Linked DNA regions of Homo sapiens: region 1 is linked to region 2. The links are contacts of gene promoters, found by promoter capture Hi-C in human tissues and cell types (Jung and others, 2019). All regions are on one chromosome and are shown on one strand. Each heading gives the region's core, a stretch centred on a gene start or on the middle of the fragment in contact. The rest is flanking DNA. Distances are from core to core; before and after follow the strand shown. Region 1 overlaps FAM76A (family with sequence similarity 76 member A). Region 2 holds the start of AHDC1 (AT-hook DNA binding motif containing 1).

Region 1 (2,741 bases), core at 47-2,546, 160 kb before region 2:
GTTAGGCTTTTAATTTTTTAAGTCTATAAGCAAGACAAACTTTTCTAGGCTGAAGGGCTGAAGGGGATAACGGGGTATGTCTACTGGTAAACAGCAAGAAATAAAAACAAAATCCAACAATTACACTTGAGTCAATATGAATTTTTATTAACACACATTTGTCAAAGTCTGTACAAACCAAAACATTCCTGTGTTTTAAAATGTCCATTATTACAAACATACAAAGAAACAAAAGGTGTTACCAAAAGTTAGCTACTCAATTTCATGGTAAAACAGTGTCATGATTTTTAAAAATCAAAATTTCAAGACTGAGGTTTCTTCTTTCCCTTTTTGGAACTTATGGAAAGTTAGAAAACGTGTGAATTTGCTTTATATTAAATGCCAAGACCTTAAAAAAAGATTTAGTATAAAACTAAGTATGTTTTTATATTGTCATACATCATGTAACAGAATTTCAGTCCTTAAAATTAAAAAAAAACACCATGACTGTCATTTCCCCCTAATTTTTCTCCCATAGTCAATGCAAATGCATCTGAAAAATATTATGACAGTTTATCTTTACCTAAAAGCTTCTCATTCAAAAACTTTACAAAACTATTTAGCACTGCCATTTCCCTTGCTTAGAAGGGAAAATTATATCCCCTAGTAGGGTGATATATAAGCGACATGGTCCACTGTATCCCTTATCAGAAGGAAACCACCATTTCCACATCTCTGTCCAATTATGTGTAGGACTCCATTTATGAGAATGCTATCACAAATTATAGAGCATCTGCTTCCAGGAAACGCCTAGAAGTTAAATTTAGTACTATAATTTTTTGGTAGACTGAGGTACAAATGTTATCTGCCCTCATTATTATTTCTAACTCTAGTACCCCCTGCATAAATGATTCTAGGGTAGTTGGTTTTGTTGTTTCATGGCACACATGACACACCCTAATTCCTTTCACAAACATCACATAGAGGACCTGAGAGTATGCCTAGAAATGTAAATCTATCCCCTTTCCTGGAAAAGTAAATCCATATTCCTACAGGGTTAAGAAGGGAAGATAGGCAGGGCATACATAACTCTGGTTGAGGCAAAGTGCTTCTGAGAAGCACCTGTTTTCAATACATATCCATGAAAAGCAGGGAGTGTATGGGCTCGGGTGGGTGAGGAGTGGGGAGAAGGTATAGTGATACCACTTTTCCCAGACTCAAGAGTCCTTACTAGAGCAGCTCATGCTGACCCCAAAAATGCTCTGTAGTTCAAATATTATTCCTTTTTTTTTTTTTTTTGAGACGGAGTCTCACTCCATTGCCCAGGCTGCAGTGCAGTGTTGCGATTTCAGCTCATTGCAACCTCTGCCTCCCGGGATTCGAGCAGTTCTCCTGCCTCAGCCTCCTGGGTAGCTGGGATTACAGGTGCATGCCACCAGGCCCGGCTAATTTTTGTATTTTTTTAGTACAGATGGGGTTTTACCATGTTGGCCAGGATGGTCTCAAACTCCTAACCTCAAATGATCCACCCGCCTTGGCCTCCCAAATTGCTGGTATTACAGGCGTGAGCCACCGCACCCGACCATATTATTCCATTTTTAATCTGTTCATTCATGTAAAAAAACATTCTCTGACAGCAGCCCAGTATGACAACTGATATAAGCAAATAAAGGATTTTATTTTTTAAAGAAGTGGCAGTGTGAGAATTTAAAATCAATCACATAAAACAATCAGGAAAGGGGTGGGGAGAGAAGTGTCCAGTACAACCTGGACAACCTTGCTTTCTGCCCTTACTTAAAAAGACAGACGGTTCAAATCTTTGCTACCTCCCTTAAGTATCTCCATAAATGCTCTTCCAAGAAATCCTCCAAAAGGCACTTAGCTCCATACTTATGCATTGAATTGTTTCACCTTAGCAATCAGTTTTTAAGACTCCAAGGTAACAAGAAAGAAAAGATCTGATTCTTTTACTAAAAGCTAGTGAATAGGACTGTTTTTTTTTCAAGAGGCATCACTTTTACAAGAACTAGCTAGACCACCATTATTCCTTTATCAAGAAAAAGTTTCTTTTTTAAAAAATAAATAAAACTCTGGCTATACATAGTACAAAGTTCATACATAATACATCTGGAAAAAAACCGAAGAGTATACCCTGAAGCAAAAGGTTTATTGGAGAGAGAAAGCCTCTTCCATTATACCAAGTCTGAAGATGGCAGTTTTCAAAGTTCAGAGGGTGGCAGTGATATATAATTAATGCCAAACTGTTTGCTCATGGGTATGGCAGGATGCAATGAAGGACCAAAAAAAAAAAAAAAAACAAAAAACAAATCATTCTGCACATTACACTGAGCAGTGACCACCACAAAAAAAAAAAAAAAAAAAAAAAGAAAAAAGAAAAAAAAAGAATAGAACCAAAATAGAGAGAAGAGGAAGAAGAAAAAGAAAAGTCCTAATAGTGAGAGAAAGAGAGCGAGCTTGAAATCCCAAACACTCAAGCATGCAGTCTAACACAGCACAAACCAGGTGTTTCCATTCAGCCCACTGCAATCGCACAAAGAAGGATAACTGTAATAAAATAGAGATTTCTTAAGAAAGCTTGCAATTCCCACAGAACAGCCAGGTCTCCAACCCTAACCCTGGACAACTCCATTTGCTGTTGCTAGGGAGCCTCCTTGAGGTCTGTCATGGAGAGGTTATAGCTCCTGACTTCTCTGACTTCTTGCTCTTGGACAAAGCAGCTGCCTGCTTCAGGAGCTCTCGGT
Region 2 (3,031 bases), core at 455-2,954:
TGAACCCAAGTCCTAACTTGTCTGCAAGGAGAAGCTGCTCCAAGATGAGGGCCTCTCCAGTCGGTCATGGCAGCCCCATGATGCCAAATCAATAGTGTCCCGTTTAGAGCCCTAGACCTCTCCTATTACTGCTGCACACACCCTCTGCCAAGGGCCAATAGAGAGTGTTCCCCAGATCCCCTCTCTTGTCCTCTGGGGGTACTGGACTGCCATAGAGAAGGAGCTTGGAAGGAGTGAAGGTGTGGGGAAGATAGTGACCAGGGAGTTGCGGTTGGCAAAATGTCACCAGCTGCCTTTGTCACACACTGGCCAACACCCTGCAAGGCCAAAGGAAGAGTCAGAAACAGGTAGGCCAGAGACAAAGGCACTGCTCTAGGAACTTCAGACCTGGAGCAAGATAGACAAGGCCAGCAGACACAGGGTGTGGAACATCAGACACACAGATGAGGTGGTCCAGTGAGGTGGGACCGCCGCAGGGCCAGTCAGGGCCGGCGTTGGTAGACACCTAGGACACAGGACACGACAGCCACTATGCATTATTCATCTCCGTGTCCCTTGCAAGCCCTGCATACCTCAGTTAACATTTGTTGAAGTGCCAAGAAAGGACACACAGACACAGGGAGAGAAGGTCAGTTACAGAAATGGAGGGAGTCACAACTCCTTGTCATAGCCCAGGGGTTAAGCTTGTGGGGTTTGGAGTTAGTCAGACCCTGGTTCAAATCCAGCTGGGTTCAGCCACTTGCTAACTGGAGAACCTGGACCTCAGTGCCCCCATCTCTAAAATGGAAATAACAGCACTATTTTACCGCAGCAGTTCAGCCATCTCCGGGGGCGGTAACAAGGCCCCCAAGCAGCGCACATTCCCATCTGTGGGATAGGCTAGGCAGGGGCTGGAGAACACATGTGACCTGAAGAGGAGGTAGGTGAAAGTGCTGAGCCCAGCCCCCGGCCGCGGCAGGAGGTCAGCACCGTTCAATCTGAATCCTGCTTCCTGACACAACGCAAATGCTCAGCAGAATTCGGAAAAGGGTGTGTGTGTTCTATCTGCGGATTATCCAGGACTTTTGAGCCCTCGCCGCCCTTGGACATATAGGAAAGCTGGGAGTTGCAAGGGCGAAACCGAGGTCGGAGTTTGAGAGGAGGGGTCACTGAGTGAGGAAGCAGCGCTGGCTGGGTCTCCCCCGCTCCCCCGCCCCAGCAGCCCTCCCGCCATATATACTTGAGCTTTACTCAATAAGAAACCTTTTCAGAAAAGGATAACGTCCCCAGATTGAGAGAGCCGGTCCTCTCCTCTGCCCTCTCCCCCTCCCATTTAATTGGGACGCCCCAGAAAGTCGCAGCCCCTTTGGCTAATCCCCTGGTTCCCTATTCCACTCCCATTCCACTCTCAGACCCCGCCCCTTCACTCCCACCCGCAACCTCCGCTCGATCCAGAGCCCCCCGGTGGAGACAAGGAACACAGGGACCATTCTTAACCCTTGGGGAGGATCTTCGCCCGTTGGTAAACGAGGACGCGCTCCAGCCAGACGAGCCCCAGGCGCGGGGTCCCCGGGGCTCCTGGCCGCGCCGTCGGAGCAGCCGGCGCGGCCCCGCCCTCCCCGCGCGCGGAGCGGCCGGGGCGGGGACTACAAGTCCCGGCGTGCCGCGCGCGCGCTCCCCCCTGGGGTTCCGGATGGTGAGCGGCGAAGGTAAGGCGAGCTCGCAGAGGCAGCGGCGGCGGCGGCGGAGACGGAGAGAGGCAGGCAGGCAGGGCGAGGGCGAGAGACGGAGGGAGGGAGCGAGCGAGGCGGACCAGACAGACAGACAGGCGGGCGGGCGGGCAGAGCGAGCCACCCGCCAGGCTGCGCTCAGCCCCGCTCGCAGCGGAGAGAGCAGAAGGCAGGAGGAGGGAGGGGAGGAGGGGGAGGGAGGGAGAGAGGGAATCCAGCTACCACCACCCAAAGCCAGCGTCTGCTTTCTGTCCTCATTTCCTTTTCCCACCCAGCTTGGAGAGCAGAGAAAGGCAGAGAGAGCGAGAAATAGAGACAGTCTGAGAGACAGACAGACAGCCAGAGAGAGCGGGAGGGAGGAGGGCGGAGGAGGAGGAGCAGGAGGACTACGCGGGGCGCGTTCCCTCCCAGGTTTGCTATTGGGGGGGGTGGGGGCGGGGGTGTCCAGGGCTGGGAGAGTGTGTGCGCGGCGGGAGGGCGAGGGGGGCGCAGAGAGAGCGAAGGAGTGATCGAGGTGGGGGGGCGCCGCGGGAGCGGGGGGCCGTGTCCAGCGGAGTTAGCGGCGGAGAATGTGAGCCGAGGCGCGAGCCATGCTGTCAGCGACGGCGGGCGGCTCAGGGCTCCTCCACGACTCCTCTCCTCAGCAGCCGGGCGCCCGCGTCGCTGCCACCGCCGGAAGACAGACGTCCCCCAAAACCCCTCGCCTGGCTCGGACCCACGGAGCCGGCAGCCCAGCACTCCGGTGAGTGGCGCCTCCTCCCCAGCCCCAGACCCCCGCTGGGGACCGGCCGGCCAGGCTCTTTTGTGCAGCGCACGGGGGGGGCCTGCGTCCCCCGGTCCGGTCCGCTGGACCCGGTGGCTGCGGTGCCCGCGGTGCGATCGGTCTTTGTTTCCACCGGGGCCCGCGGCTCGGCTGGGCTCGGCTCGAAGCCTGGCAGGCAGCGCCGGGAAGGGGGAGGGGGAGGTGGACGGGGAGGGGGGGCGGGGAGGGGGGGTTCTCGGGTTTCCTGGCCGCCCCGCGGCTCCCCCGGCTCGGGGGCGAGGTGCGCGCCCAGCGCTGCCGCGCGCCCCCTCCTCCTTCCCCCTCCCTCCGCCTTTGGATTTAAAACTGCAATTTGCTCTCCAGCTTGCTGAGAATGTGGGGGGGGGGGGAATGAAGGGGGGACCGTGGGAGCGGAGAACAAGGCTGGATTTTAGGATCGGCGCTGGGAAAAGGGGAGACTGCGGAGGGAGGAGCCCCTCCCCTCCAACCCCCAAATCCCTAGGATCCACTGGCTCTCGGGGAGTTGAGGGGCGGGGACCTAATGACCCGGAGGGGGTGT

Evidence for each region. The method cuts DNA at HindIII sites, captures the fragments that hold promoters and counts their contacts. A contact is called where the count stands out against the background at its distance.
Region 1: a contact is called between a fragment that was not itself captured here and the fragment with the promoter of AHDC1 in region 2, in 4 of the 25 tissues and cell types used here (IMR-90 fibroblasts, dorsolateral prefrontal cortex, lymphoblastoid cells and 1 more).

Annotation. Positions count from the first base shown.
Region 1 is chr1:27,760,502-27,763,242 of GRCh38, reverse strand. It overlaps FAM76A (family with sequence similarity 76 member A), which reads right to left. Exons shown (of 9, transcript NM_152660.3): 9 at 127-2,741. The coding sequence ends at 2,662. Among named protein-coding and RNA genes, the nearest start is that of STX12, 11 kb to the left of the region's middle. The HindIII fragment of the contact is 6,157 bases long and covers 1-2,741 here.
Region 2 is chr1:27,602,817-27,605,847 of GRCh38, reverse strand. AHDC1 (AT-hook DNA binding motif containing 1) reads left to right here and starts at 1,704. Exons shown (of 9, transcript NM_001371928.1): 1 at 1,704-1,742; 2 at 1,985-2,120; 3 at 2,354-2,451. RefSeq lists silencers at 1,360-1,899, 2,450-2,529 and an enhancer at 3,013-3,031. The HindIII fragment of the contact is 10,400 bases long and covers 1-3,031 here.